Regions from separate parts of the Homo sapiens genome. Here all the other regions are linked to region 3. Evidence: promoter capture Hi-C in human tissues and cell types (Jung and others, 2019). All regions are on one chromosome and are shown on one strand. Each heading gives the region's core, a stretch centred on a gene start or on the middle of the fragment in contact. The rest is flanking DNA. Distances are from core to core; before and after follow the strand shown.

Region 1 (3,919 bases), core at 571-3,070, 250 kb before region 3:
GATGGTTAGGTTCCCAGGGAACAGGGCAACAGGAGAGTTCTCATAAAGGGCAACAGGAGATACTTAGGGTCAAAGGGGTGACCAATATAGAGCTTGGGAAGCCAACCAGAGGTCCTGATACTGGGGAGGAGACCAGGCATGAGCACCAAATCCAAAGTGGTCAGAAGTGGCCACCTGGGACTCAAGGGCAAGATCACAGAACCAAGACTGAATTCAGGTCCAAGGCAGGAAAGATAAAATTATGAAGCAAAGTTTATCTTGGTTGCCTTTCCACTTTCCCATGAAAAATTTTTCCACTTTCCTCCTTCTGGGGGCTCTCTTTTGCCTCTATCCCTTTCTTATTCCTGACAATCAGTCTCTTCTGAATCATTATATAAAGTAGGCTTACATTTGCTGGTAAAGTCAGTTCAGCATTTCTTGTAACAACCCTCTCCTTTTTGCTTAATGGCCTTGTGGTAGATTAAAGATGGCCACAAATTCTTTGACATTCTTCCCATGGAGAGACAGGGTCTATGTCCTCATTCTCCGAATCTGGGCAGGCTCTGTGACTGCCCCAACGCACTGAATATGGCAGAAGTGATTCTATGTCAACCTGCAACTCCAGGCCTTATGAAATCCACAGCTCCCTCTTGCTATTGCTTGAAATGCTTGCTCTTGGGAGAGCCAGCCGCCATGTAAGAAGTCTAATTACCCAGAGACCAACATGCTGAGAGAAGCCCAAACCATGTGCAGGGAGACTGGGGAGATTATGACACCACTGGGGGACAGAGAGACACCAAGGAGCACAGAGGTACCAGACAGGTGAGTTAAGAAGACTCCAGAACATCCTCCTCCAAAGTGTCTTCTTAACACACGTCTGGTAACTCTGTGAGTCCACGTTCTCCACCTGATGCAATCCCAGGCAAGTTCTTCCTGAATTCTTGGCCCACAAAATTATAAGCAAAATGAAATGGTTGCTTTAGGCTTCTAGGATGTATGGCTGTTTGTCATGCAGCAACAGATAACCAGACCACCACTTAACAGAGGGAGCAGTATCAGTGATGCAGCATCATCCACACCCACCAAACAACTCACTGGAATGACTGACCTGTTGTTTAGGAAAAGTGAGGATGCAAAAGAAACTTCAGAAGGTTTTACCCAGTAGGATTCAAAGCTATCCAATGACTATACTACTCCCTCTACAACAGAAGTAGTGAGAGTAAAGACTTGATATTTATCTTCAACTAAGCTGCCACTGTCCTTTGGACTAAATCTTTGTGTATCACATCAATATTTTAATAACTCAAATCTAGATGTGCCACCTCTATCTCAGGACAACCTAATTCTTGAGCACAAACATCATTCCTAACAATAACTCAGTAACAAGTAAGTTTAAAACCTTCAAATTTTCAAAAGCACTATTTCCATAGAAATCCCAAATTCTAGGTAAAGATTCTTAAGAAAGTGCCATAAACAGTGGCAGAAATTCCTTTTGTCTTCATTAAAAGGCACAAATCCTTATCCTTCCTTCCTTTTGCTTCTTTGGATTATGTTACTTAATAAGCATTCTAGGAAACCCCAGGCTTTACTGAAGGTTGAACTTGGAAAAATGCTTCTAAATAATTACAAGACTTGAGAACATTACTCATTCTGCTTCTATTTCTCTTTACCCCAAGAGTTCTGACATATTCCTCAGCCAGCATGACTTGATCCCCATCATGCCCAGCAATGCCTGATCCCAGGCCTTTGTAAGCTGGAACTACTCACAATTTTCTCACAAAATTCCTAGCAAATTGTTCCACAACTGACCTAAAAAGGAAGGGGCACAGTGACCAGGAAACTCTGCTCCACATTGTTTTAGCTGAACTAGCCAAATTCCTTTATCACCTGCCCTTGAACCCTTCGAGAAGAATTCCTTCCCTCTTTTATACAAAAATGTACCAAACAGAATGAGTTGCCTTTGTAGGAATTTGTTCCACTGCAGACTCAAAATAAATATGATACAGGTCATGTGACTTGTATCAAGCACGGGCTTCAGAACCAACTGTCTTAAAGTTGTAGCTCTACTATTTTATTCTATGACCTTACGCTAAGTTCGTTCCAGAGCCTGCCTCCTCTCTGTGAAATGGGTCAAATCCCACCTTCTACCTCACATGGCTATGGTAAAGATTTCATGAGATAAACTACATAAAGTGCACACAGCACAGGGCCTAATCAACGGAAAGCACTCAGTGAATGTCAGTTCCATTCCCTCAAAATCCTCCTACACCAGAATTAAATTAAATTATATTCAAAACACCAAATACTCAATTTTAATAAGCTTATTTCAAAATTGATGTAACTGTTATAACCACCTTAAATGTCAGAATCATTAAATTTTACGTATCTAATGTAAAATACTTCAGGAAAAATGCATTTTAGAAGCACATTTTAACAGATAAGGTTTAGATAATAGAATGCCACTCAGGTAAAACATTTAAGTACAGAAGCAACTCAAGTGTCAAAACTTTATTAGAATACATCAAACTCAGAAGTATTCAGAAAAGACATTAAATCCTGGTTCACTAATCTCATCAACCATAATATACCCTTGGTATCTACTTCATTTAGTGCACTGCCAGTACATTATCAGTATAGCAATGAATAAAATGTCAAAATTCAAATGAACAAAGATGCTAAGTTCTTTAATGTGAACTGTTCTATATTCCAATATCCAATAAAATGGGGTTACAAGCCAAGTCACTTAGAAATACATTTTAATTTCTAACTTTGTTTTAGCAAAGAAGTGAGTAAGAATTTCATATCACACCAGATTTAAGATATGGTTATCAGCTTATCTTTATGGACAAGTAGGTTTTAACCTCTACCCTAAATAATTCAATTCCTCTTCACTCTATTACCTGGTTCTCTTTAAGGAGCAATATCCTTGGTTTAGCAACATCCTTAGAGGCTAATTTTGAGACTGTGCTTTAGCCTACTTTCCCAACCTTTCCCATGTCAGGGCACGCATAGAAAATATCTGTATGACACATGCACATTAACTGAAGAGGCTTCTCACAGCCAGAAATGATTTGTCTGGGAGCACAGCCACCTCTAGGCTGAGGGGATCATTTATTTCAACACATATGTAATCCACTTGTGGCCCCTCTGATGGGAAGCTATGCTAGCCAACCTTTTACGTGGTTATCTAGCAATGCAGGAGGACGTCTCCCTTCTACTCCAATGTTCACTAGCTGGAACAAAAGACTAGAAGTCATTAATCGCCTGAGAGGACTGGGCACAGTGGCTCATGCCTGTAATCCCAACACTTTGGGAGGCCAAGGCAGGAGGATCGCCTGAGACCAGGAGTTCCAGATCAGCCTGGGCAATATAGTGAGACCTCGCCTCTACAACGGGAAAATAACTTGAGCGTGGAAGGTAAGGGCTGCTGTGAGCTAAGATAGCGCCACTGCACTCCAGCCTGGGCAACAAAGCAAGATTTTGTCTCAAATAAACAAATCACCGGAGGAGACCAGCAGCAGCATCTGGGAATCCAAGATGCCATTCCTCTGACGATCTACAGTTCATAACCATCAATCCTCTGAGGCCTATCAGAGAAAACAGATGCTGAAATCCTTATTTCTATCCCATGTATAATTGTCTTGTCCTACTGCCATTCTATAACTCCAGGGAGTGGCCACTCAACAGTTCAACATGAAGGAACCTCTTGTGAATTAAATTAAATGGAAGAGAGAAGTATCCGAAACAGCTGGTCTGAGCCGAGCTGACAGAAAAGCACTGATGAGTGTGTACAAGGAACAGTTAACTGCTTAAAATGAACCCTGACCCAGGGCCTATGATCGGCTACTACTTGACTAAAAATGTCCCCAAGGCTACTTCCAGCTCTCTAATTTCAAGGTTTCCCAACAGAAAAATAATTACGATAGATAAGTATTTCACT
Region 2 (3,976 bases), core at 1,159-3,658, 210 kb after region 3:
AGAACTTTCAGACTTGGCATTTTGTCTACATCAGGAAGCAGGATTTACTCAGAGAAGGGTACACTTCTCTTATTCTGAATTTAAAAAAGAATGAGGAAGGAATCATAGTCAGAAGCAGGCCCAAGGAGCCTTAAGAAAAGAAAAGCATGAAATCATGGAAGTCTTTATAAACTCAAGGGAGAGACATTGTCCAGATTCTAAAATTCCACCATACTATGACTAAAATACTTTAATTCACAGCTTTCTTTAAAAAAAAGTATTTCCTCTATGCTTTGAAGTCTCTGTAGAGTGAGAATGACACTATCTTCTGAGTTTGTCCAAATTTATTTGAGTATGGTGGTATATCAGCCCTCTCGGGCTAAAAAAACTATATACAAAACATGCAGATCATCCATGTTAAAAAAAAAACAGGAGAAATATATAGCTAGATTGTTGAGGAAGGAGAAATGTTGGGAATTATAACACTAAAGTCCATATTAGTTAAAGTTCTATTTTTTGCAATGTATTTTTTTAAAAAAATCACTTAATTGCTGTTTGTGAAATAAAACAGAAGCCCAAATGAAATACAATTGTCTTCTGAACAATTTCCACCAACTATCTTTTTGGGAAAAAAAAAAAGAAACTTTCATTGCTATATTTTAAAAATGTCCACAAATGAAAACACAGCCATTGAACACAAAGATTATGTACAATCCCTCCCAAAGAGTATGTGCTAAAAAGCACAAAACAAATCACGACTAAACAGAGTAATCATATTTAGAAAACCTAAGATGTCATTTTCATGATCAAAATAAAGGTGGCTGAGTCATGAATATACTTCAAAAAAGCTTGAACTTTTCTTTGTGCTATAAAAGGATGATCGACAATAACCAAAACTTACATTGTTTGAATCCAAGTTCTTTTTCACCCTTCTCAATGTATAACTTCCTAGTAATATGGGACAGCTACAGAACCATTCATCATGAGCCTTTCATTAGTTAGCCAGGTCCTCCCAAGTAAGGCCACCGAAATAATCAACACAGAGGGGTCACTACATCCCGAGCTAAACCTCCAGCAAAGGAAGACACTGATCAAGCCAGACCTTTCAACTCTCAACAAGCAATGTCCCCTGTGTGACCCAGACTGCAAAGCAGAGCCATCACAATTCCCCCAAAACCCCCCCAGATGTCCAGACCTCATTCTAACCTTTGAAAATCAGAACTCTGAGAGGGAATGCAGGCCTGGGTATTTTTTTGAAGTTCAACAAGGAACTACTGCTTTAGAAACTCCTGATATAATTCTGTATAGTGTTCAGTATTTAAAAAGAAAAAGCAGCAGCCAAACACTAACCCTCATATGTGTGAAGCAGCTTTGTAGTTTTATTCAATGTTGAAACTAAAATGTCAATAAATAAGAAGTAAAAAGAATAGCAAACAGAAATAGCTTACACAGTGTTTATTTGACACTGAAACGAAGAGCTTCTGTACAATAGAAAGCACAGTGTGTGCCTGGCTCTAAGGCAGGATGCTAAGAGAGAGAACCAGGGTCAGCTGGAGAATAGACAAATGCAGAGCTCAGAGAGGTGGGACATCCAGCTCGACGAGGGAGTCTTGGGAGAAGTGAAGCAAAGAAACTTATCTGCGTGAAGATAAAAAGGTGGGAGGAAAAAAAAAGTGGCACAATGAGAAAAAAAAAAAAAAGAAAGGAAACCAAACCAATAGATGAGAGCACTTGAAACACAGACAAGAAGCAGTCATGCAAACCCCACTGCCAGCCACACCCTTGGAAGGACATCCATCTTCCCACCTGAGGCCGTCACAGGCCGCCTTTCGGCAAGGGTCCATTTTAAGAAGACCCATGAACAGAATTTAAAAACAAAAAAAATTTTAAGCTACACTCGTCTTTCAGAATATTTAATCATACTTGATGCAAAAAGTTTTTCCCAAAGAATCACCACATTTTAGCACTGAAAAAGACCTTAGAGACAGATGATCTGCTCCACCCCCTCATTTACAAATGAGGGATGAGAAGACACATTTTCTCTGGTTTCCATGGCAACAGTCATGTCTCTAGAGGCTTTTTTGTTGACTGTGGGGATTCTATAACCTCTAAGGCAGCAGGCACATGCCACTCTCTTCAAGTTACCATTTTTTCTGCATGGGTAAATGAATGACAGGTGGGCTTGGAAAATGACATTTCCAGCTTCAATGGAATTCAGGGTGATATTAGAATGAAGAACTCTGAAACATTCCAGGTTAGAATTTAAAGTAGTAGAAAAAGTTTAATGTTTAAGTTTGGTTAGTAATATGTAAATTAGTTGTATCTGTTCAAGGTTCTTCTCATGATAACAAGACTACCTACTCCAACTCTTACTGCCTAACAGTAAAATCTGGGCCATTAACTCCCAAGCTCACATTGTACAATCTGTGTTTAATTTCCCATTTATTTGACACAGGTTGTGGTAAATATTTATCGTGGGTATTTTAATTCCTTTCATAAAAACACAAAATTAAAGGCTTGGTTACTCAGCAGAGGGTTCTTTTTACTCTACCATTCTTTTTTTTCTTGAGACAGAGTCTCGCTCTGTCGTCCAGGCTGGAGTGCGGTGGTGCGATCTCGGCTGACTGCAAGCTCCACCTCCCGGGTTCATGCCATTCTCCTGCCTCAGCCTCCTGAGTAGCTGGGACTACAGGCATCCACCACCACGCCCGGCTAATTTTTTTTGTATTTTTAGTAGAGACAGGGTTTCACCGTGTTAGCCAGGATGGTCTCAATCTCCTGACCTCGTGATCCGCCCGCCTCGGCCTCCCAAAGTGCTGGGATTACAGGCGTGAGCCACTGTGCCCGGCCTACTCTAGAATTCTTAAAAGTAAAAGAGATGATCTTTTGTAGTACCACTGTTAAAGCTGTATTGGATCATGCCAATTTCCTTATCCTCAGATTCTCAATAACCTGACACTTTAAGGGTTCCTTCAAATTATATTTAACGAAAATGATTATGTTGTACTTAGTTGAATTTCAGGAAACAAATTTTGATATTTTTTGAGAAGTTCCTGTACAACAAACGGCATGGCCTTCTAGTTTTACTTGAGTTTAGCTTAATTTCCCAAAAGGACAGTGCTCAAGGTCACTCATTCTAGTTCACTGCTCTAGTTCAGCGTTTACAAAATAAACGGATTCTGAAAAGAAAATGGTTTGTATAGACAGACTTAATCTAATTGGCCTTTATATTAGCAGAAAGTGAAAAAACAATGACTATTCTAGGTTATGACAAAAAGGGTGAACACAAGAGTGCAAAGATGGAGATTAGGGAGCAAGGAAGGCATGGTGGTGAGTTTATTACATTAGCATGAGGGCAGGGTGTAAGCAGGCAGAGTGGATGAACGTTTACATGGAAGTCATATCGTTGAGAGCGTGGTCCAGCTCCTCGCTGATGGCTTTGTACTTCAGTTTCTGAGCGTACAGCTCGTCTATGACCAGGAAGTGGAAGGCAGAGGTGCAAGAACATGGAGAGTGATCAAGAAATGGAGGGTGAGTGAGGGTGGTGCGCGCACCATCCCAACACAGCAGCAAGAAAAGGGCAATGCATGAAGGGGTTGGTGCCGCAGCAGGTGGCCAATGCAGGAGGCGTGCGTTTTGTTTTAAGTAAATTGAAACAAAAACAAAGAGAACAAAACCCATTAGAAAATAAAATGAAAAAGACTCAATATGAAAATCCTAACAAATATGGTAGGTATATCAGTAAACCATGTTAAATTGTAAACGAAACCACAGAAGGCTGTCTCCTGGTGAGGGGAGGCAGGGGCTAATGGAACATCTTTCTTTTGCAGAGCTATATTTTAATTACACTGGAGTAGTCAGGCATCTGCAGCTATAAACAATGGGAAAAAAATGCAAGGGCAGTGTTTTGGAAGAACAATTTGTGACTACAGCCTGTAGTCCTTATCTGGTTCCACCTTCAAACCACTGACTTCCTGACCACACTAGACCACTGGGA
Region 3 (3,491 bases), core at 196-2,695:
TTCAATAAGGAAAAGAAAGTCCTCATAAAGTGATACTCTGATCAGTTGTTCTTAACGGTGCATTTTCCTTGGTGAGACAAACGTGTCCAAGAGGAAGGCTGAGGTTTCCCAACAATTACTTTTTTCAATGACCCTGCTACTTGCAAGTACATCTGCAGACTCTATCTGCCAAGGACTATCTAGCTAGAAACTTGGTTATTTGCTACTCTTTCTAATCAATGCTCTGCCCATTGATGAGCCAAAACAAGAAAATACACAACCCTGATTACTGCAATTTTCATATTCTTAAAACTTACAAGAAATTATGGATTTACTGATCAGATATCTGCAAAGATGAGTATCTTTTCCAGAAAAATATCTACATCTCTATTAATAAAGTGACTGGTATAAAATTCAACTTGAAAACCTGTGTTCTGATCTGGATCAGTATCCAAGCCCTCCAGGTCTTACAGCACCCCTGGGGATTCTAATGATTATAGCAAGCTTTACAGACCCTTCCCAAATCTCTATTATTTTTAAAATGACATGCAGCGAAGCACTTTCAATACGTTTGTGGGAGGTGAAGAAACGCAGAAAAGCGGGAATCATTGGCCTAGTCTGGTGCCAAGAGAGACTCATCAGAGGAGGGGGGATGTGGTATGTGCAAGTAAGAGGCAGGTGATGACTGCGATGGGACACCAGAGTCCGGTATTTACCAAGCTCCCAGAAGGAGACGCACAGTCAGGTGCTTCGGTGTTTTTACAGGTTTCCACCCTTCGGCTGCACAACGGAACCATCCAAAAGGAGCTTAAATTTTTTTTTTTTTTTCTGAAGCCCGAATCCCATCCCCTAGACATTCTGATTCAATGGATCGGGGTGGGGGTGGGCATCGGCATGTTTTAAAGCACCTGGCCACAGGTGATTCTAATAGGCGGAAGTCGCGCACTACTATCCTAAACGCCAATGGTTTTTAACCCTTTGGGGATTACACATGCCTTTGAGAATCTGAGGGAAATTAGGGACTCCCCCTCCAGAAAATGAAGGATGCATATATGAACTTATCCATAATTTTTTTATACAACTTTAGTAGCTTCACGGATCACTAAACCCCACCCATGAGCCCCAGGCAAAAGGCCCTGACCCCCAGTGTGCGCTTCTTCCTAAGAGGGCGAGGCGCCTTTGGGGAGCCGGATCTCCGCTCTCCCCCTCTCAACCCTCCTCCCGTCTGAAACGCAACAAGGTCGAGCCGCGCGGTGGGGGCGCCGAGGGTCGCGGGTAACCCCAGCGGGGGAGGGGAGCCCCGGCGTCCGGGTTTCCCGACGCGACCGCCTCACCCGGCGATGAGGAAGATGATACGCAACGGCTCGGTGGCGATGGTGAAGACATAAAGGGCGAGCGCAGGCCCGAAGGCAATGAAGGCGCAGCCGAAGAACACGGCCGCAGTCATGGCCACCGCGGAAACCGACCCGGGGGCCCGTTGGGGACGCGAGATGCTCCCGGCGCGGGCGGGGTTCGGTGGGTGGGGCTCGGGGTGGGGGGCTAAGCGGGACGCGGGGGGCGGGGCGCGGCTCATGGGCAGGCACGGGGACGGGGGCGGGGCTCGGGGGCGGGGCACGTGGGGGCGGGGGCGGGGCTCGGAGGCGGGGTACGTGGGTCGCGGGGCGAGGCGGGGCGTGGGGGTAAACGCTAGGGCCTGGGGGACTGGGCGGGGCGTGGGCTGAGGGCGCCGGGCGCAGGGGCGGGCTCAAGGCGGTGAGCGCGGACCCCACCGTTGGGCCCTCCGCCCTACCGGGTGTCCGGAAGCGCCAGGGCCACGCCGCAGCTCCTGCTCCCGAGGCGGGCGTCCTCGGCGACGTTAGGGCCCCAGCCATCGCCGCAGCCCCACAGATACACTCCGATCGGGTTCCAGTGCCGGCCGCGAGGTGGTTAAGAGAAGGGAAGCTCCCTAGCCCACCTTCGAGCCGCATGCACCGAGAACAGGCAGAGATTCCAAGTCAACCAAAGAGACTAAACAAAAATGTAGCGCAGGAACAAGCAGGATTCCTTTTTAAATAGGTTTTTTTTTTTTTTTAAGCACATTTTACCGTTTGGATAGTTGCGGGAACTTCGTACTCCATCCTGTATAAAACCTAGGCTGGGATAGCAGTGACCCCGGGGATAACCCACAGATGGTAAAATGATGAAAGAGTGGTGGAAGAAGCTGCCCTTCTCAGGGCTGTTTCAGCCAAATGGTTTTTATTTTTTTCCCAATTCTTCAAAAGGGTTGTTTTTGCAGGCATTCTGTGACCACCCTACAAGCAATAGTAACATCTCCCTGCTCCGTCTTCTCACAGTCGTCCATTTCACTTGCTTATTTTTCTTCCCCGTTAAAACGCGAACTCCTGGGGGACAGGGACTTTGCTTTGCTCTTTGTTGTTTCCTCAGCACCTAGAAGTTCACTAATATCTGTTCAATAAGTGAAATAATTTAAAAGGTGGAAGTTATAAACATCTATATTAACAATTTCTGAAAGGTTTAAAAATTAAAACTTAAGTTCTCTGATCATTCACATCCAAGTTAGATTTTTCTTTATGTTGAATAATACTTCGTCGGTTATTTTGATCAGTGTGCCTGACACAGGTAAGTGCTATGTAAGTATTAACCACTCCTACATAATGTCCATCATGAATAAAGATTTTGGCAATCCACATTTAAAAAAACACCAGTAGACAAATGTTGGGACCTGACAGATGTTTTGCAGCTCGCCCCTGAAAATGCACCTTCAAATAATACAACTGCAGGTATTTAATTCTTACAGAAAAACATTACCTTTGCCCATTTAAAAGTCATATATATTTCCATTCACTCCCACAGAATACTTCTTCAGATTCCAGTGATTGTATTTTGAATGGTCAGATCCCAGCACAATACCTATCAAAACTCGGGTCGAGACAACAGTTCAGAGTGATAGATCTGCTTTGTAAAGATATGGAAAATGAGCTTCCAGACTGGAGGTCCTCAGTGCAACGCAGGCATGAGATGGCAGTGGCCTGATTCAGGGAATTAGCAGGACTCTGGAGGGAAGCAGACAAATTTAATAGAAGTTTAGGAATTGTACAAACAGAATTTAGTGACTAATGAGCTACATAGAGTGAGATGGGGGAAGAGTCAAGGATGAGGGCTTCTAGAGGGTTCGGGCTTAAGTGGATGCTGTGGAGACAGGAGGAGGAGAGAATATGGCAAAGTAGACACGATAATGAGTACCATTTTGTTATTTTGTTGTTACTGTTTTGGAGACATAGTCTCACTCTGTCGCCCAGGCTGGAGTGCAGTGGTGTGATCTCAGCTCACTGCAACCTCTGCCTCCCGAGTTCAAGCAATTATCCTGCCTCAGCCTCCAGAGTAGCTGGGACTATAGGCACGCGCCACCATGCCTGGGTTATTTTCGTATTTTAGTAGAGACAGTGTGAACAATGTTGGCCAGGCCAGTCTCGAACTCCTGGCCTCAAGTGACTTGCCCACCTCGGCCTCCC
Region 4 (3,838 bases), core at 299-2,798, 190 kb after region 3:
TACAAAAATTAGCCAGGTGTGGTGGCGCATGCCTGTAATCCCAGCTACTCGGGAGGCTGAGGCAGGAAAATCGCTTGAACCCGCGAGGTGGAGGTTGCAGCGAGCTGAGATCGCGCCACTGCACTCCAGCCTGGCGACAAAGCGAGACTCCATCTCAAAATAAATAAATAAATACAAAGTATTTAAAAAGGCAAGTAAATTTACTTACAATCCACCACCTAGAAATAACCTTGTTATTACTATGATGTGTTTTTTTCCCCTAGTATTTGTAAGTGATATGGCCGAGCTCCCATCACATATGTGTAAGTCACTCGACCAAGGTGCCAAAGCTAAGACAGGGGCAGAGCTGGGCTCACACACCAGGCAGGGCTGCCTCCAGGGCCAGGTTCTTCTGTGTAGCTACTTCTCCACACTTCCTCAATCAAGTTAAGGATTAAATGTCTTTTGAGAAACTGATGAAAAAATATTTCAAGTGTTTCAAGTTTGAAAATATACACTTACATTCAAAAGCATGTAAAGAAACCAGAGGTACCTAAGACAATCTTATCATATAGTTCAAGGCTGGAATTCTGCCCAGAAGGTAGGGTTTCACTTGCAAAACATGAATTTCTACAGATTTTTGTTTGGCCAACATTTTCACTGTTAAAACATTACTGTTCAAGCTGTTACAACTACAACAAGTAAATTTGGAAAAATCAGTGAACTAATCATTTGACAAATGGATTAAATTGAGTGAATTAATGATTCAGCAGATTGGGTCTTTGGGTGCACTGATTTTTTGGCAAATTGGCTCGCATCTATTAACATGGAGTAGTGCTCAATGTATGTGCTTGTTGAATTAATTAACACATGAATGAATGAGTGCATTGAATCTTGCCATAAATAAAATGATCTTTCCCCCCGAAGGTCAATGACTTTACATGATGTCAGCATTTTAAGAGCCCCAAAAGCTTCTTGAGACAGATATTCTGATTCTAGGGTCACGGCTACTCACCATGTGTGCATCCCAACTCCAAATCCACACTCATTGCCTGGTTGGCTCCTCAGTGAGAGCTGGTGCTTCCCTGTTGGTTCTTAGGGTTGAAGCCCGCTCACTATGGGTCTTGGAGTCAGAAGACCCAGGTTTGAATGTCACTGGGCTTGTCCACATCTTAGCCACGGAACACTGGCCAAGCCAGTGCACCCTGGAACCGTGTTGTCACTGATTACATGGGGACAGTGCTGATGTCTGTCCTGCTTTGTTCCCAGCATCACTGTCACTATCAAATAAAATGGAAATGCTCTCTGGGAGCCGGAAAGTGCTAGGTGAATTTTAGTTCTTTATGAGTTCATTATTATGAAAACCACAGTGGCCATGTGTGTGCTCTGTCATGGAGGGAGTAGGAAGGCTGGGGACGGGTCTCAGGGAAGGAGGGCCATGCCTGCTCGCTGGTAGAGGGTCACTACTCACCTTTGCTCTTTGGTCTCTGCCTTTCTGGTCACTGACACGCATGATAGAAGGGCACACACACCTATTAAACTGCTTCCCCCAGGTCATCTGCCAGTGAGGAGCTGGCAAACCCCAGTGGCCCTACAAACGCCTCCTCACTGGCTGCTTCAGGCTGAGGTCATTTGCCCGGAGCCCCTGGGGTGGGGTGAGAGGGAAGCCGGGGTCCTCCCAGTCACCTTGGGCCCTGTGCGGCCAGGCTGGGTGGCATCCTCCTCCGTCTGGCCTCTCTGCTCCCAGCTCTGAACGCAGCCTGAGAGAGGGCAGAAGGGGTGTCTGCTGGGCACCTTTGCTGCCTCACAGCCAAAGAAACCTGGCTGGGGAGGGCCGGGCAGGGAGGGCACACAGCTGGGCATGACAGGGAGGGCGTGTAATGGCGTAAGCTTGGGAACAGGATCAAAGACAAAGAACGAGGGGGCAAGAGGTGTCTGGAGAACGCAATTTTTTCCTCCTCCCTTTTCTCAAGTGTAAGAGTAAAATCATTAAAGAAAATAATGCGCCCTTCAAAGGCGAATTGGCAATCAGTGTTGAATTTTAGTGCTGGAGTGGGTGACAGCACATCCCAGCTGCAGTCAGGAGACCTACCGCTGCTGAGTGACGCTGCACCAGCCACCCGCCATCAGCCACCAGCCCCCAGCCAAGCGGTCATTTACCACCCACTTGGTCTGGCTCACTTTCTGTTTCCTGAGTTATATTAGCTCTAGTGGAGACCTACCATAACAGTTCATCACGCTTGAAAGGTGCTTCTTCCTCCCAGAGAACTTCACGTCCACCCTCTAAAAGCTCATCTGTCTGAACAGCCCTTCAGGGTTAAAAGCACCTGTGCTCAGATGGACTCTGAATTGGAAGGTTCTGAGGTTCCATCTAATCCTGTTATTACCCAGACTTCAGCTGGGCTCTCATTTCACCTCTCAGAGATTTGGTTCAATTTAGCCTGGACCCCAATTCCAGGGCCAGTTTAAGACCATTACAGGCCCCAGGGTCTTTTAATTATGGAGTCCGCATTCCACATAATATCAAACACATTAGAATATACCCATATTTCACATTGAGTATCACATTTTTGCTGTAGAAAGGATCAAAAGGACTTTATTAATCTTGCTTTTGAAATTATAGCTGCTCATTGACTACATGTCTGGCTATGTTCTCCAGGCTGGCATTGTGCATGCACAGTACATTTTATGGAGGGAGAAAATAAAACCTTAGCGTTATTTTCAAACAGAGAATCCAGAAACACTAAATTTAAACATGAATGAATTGACGTTGTTTGTTTTATAGACATTTAATTAAAATGTATTCCTTTCAATTTCATACTTTTCCTTTTATATTTTAGATTCAATAATTTTTTTTTTTTGGCATGTCACGTATTTTCACAGGCCTTTGAAAAAAGCTCATTGGCCAGAGGCCCTGTCCCCGGGGCCCTGCAGACCAGATGGCTCTGCTGGTGTTTGCTGAGAGCCCTTCCCAAGATTTTGCCCCACCCCTCACCTCATTCCCAGCATCTTTCTGATCCCCTGCTCCCTGTTCCTGTGTGTCTATCTGCCTGTGTTTCAGTTTCCACTGGTATCAAAACTGACCGCAAAGCCCAGCTCCTTCACTGTTACATGGACATTTCATGAGGTTGGTACCTGGACACATTCTGAGGACCATGGAGAACTGTCACTTACATACCTTGTAAGCTCCTGCCATCTGCTTGGCTCCACCCTTTCCCTCCCAGTGCCCACCCTCTCTCACTCCACATCCTGCCAAGGGCAGCTCTCCAGGGAGCCTGCATCACATCAACCACTTCCCTTGTCTGGCCGCTTCTCTTTCAAACAGCCAGGAATGCCTGCAGTCCCTATCCCCCTTGAATCTGCAGAGCAACATTGCTCCATCTCTACACAAGCATTATCCGATGACTTCATCCCTTCCAGAGCTTCCTGGGCAGGAGCTGCTGCTGGACACTTCCCAGGATGAGGATCTCACCGTCTCTCAGGACAAGGCTTTTGCTTGCTTTTGGCCTGTTCTCACCATTAAAAAGGAATAAGATGAGGCCAGATGTGTGGCTCCTGCCTGTAATCTCAGCACCTTGGAAGGCCAAGGTGGGAGGGTTGCTCCAGCTCAGCAGTTTGAGACCAGCCTGGGCAACACAGGGAGACCCCATCTTTACAAATACTACTACTACCAGCACTACTACTATTACTACTACTACTTGTAAAATTAGTTGGGCGTAGTGGTGCATACTTGTAGTCCCAGCTACTCAGCCATCTGGATCGCTTGAGCCTGGGAGACTTGAGGCTGCAGTGAGCCATGACTGTGCCACTGCACTGCGGCCTGGGCAATAGAGAGATACCTTGTCTCAAAAAAAAAAAA

Evidence for each region. The method cuts DNA at HindIII sites, captures the fragments that hold promoters and counts their contacts. A contact is called where the count stands out against the background at its distance.
Region 1: a contact is called between a fragment that was not itself captured here and the fragment with the promoter of APH1B in region 3, in 2 of the 25 tissues and cell types used here (hippocampus and mesenchymal stem cells).
Region 2: a contact is called between a fragment that was not itself captured here and the fragment with the promoter of APH1B in region 3, in 1 of the 25 tissues and cell types used here (mesenchymal stem cells).
Region 4: a fragment that was not itself captured here is called in contact with the fragment with the promoter of APH1B in region 3 in 4 of the 25 tissues and cell types used here (IMR-90 fibroblasts, heart right ventricle, lymphoblastoid cells and 1 more).

Annotation. Positions count from the first base shown.
Region 1 is chr15:63,521,507-63,525,425 of GRCh38, reverse strand. The region is part of intron 1 of USP3 (ubiquitin specific peptidase 3); the gene reads right to left. Among named protein-coding and RNA genes, the nearest start is that of USP3, 19 kb to the right of the region's middle. The HindIII fragment of the contact is 6,559 bases long and covers 1-3,919 here.
Region 2 is chr15:63,063,537-63,067,512 of GRCh38, reverse strand. TPM1 (tropomyosin 1) reads right to left here. Exons shown (of 10, transcript NM_001018005.2): 9 at 3,371-3,449; 10 at 1,335-1,617. The coding sequence ends at 1,614. Among named protein-coding and RNA genes, the nearest start is that of TPM1-AS, 16 kb to the right of the region's middle. The HindIII fragment of the contact is 6,156 bases long and covers 1-3,976 here.
Region 3 is chr15:63,275,559-63,279,049 of GRCh38, reverse strand. APH1B (aph-1B gamma-secretase subunit) reads right to left here and starts at 1,445. Exons shown (of 6, transcript NM_031301.4): 1 at 1,314-1,445. The coding sequence starts at 1,426. It overlaps LOC124903504 (a long non-coding RNA gene), which reads right to left. Exons shown (of 2, transcript XR_007064674.1): 2 at 2,198-3,032. RefSeq lists silencers at 1,139-1,418, 1,499-1,918. The HindIII fragment of the contact is 12,664 bases long and covers 1-3,491 here.
Region 4 is chr15:63,088,956-63,092,793 of GRCh38, reverse strand. No RefSeq gene overlaps it. Among named protein-coding and RNA genes, the nearest start is that of LACTB, 31 kb to the left of the region's middle. RefSeq lists an enhancer at 1-2,448. The HindIII fragment of the contact is 4,531 bases long and covers 1-3,813 here.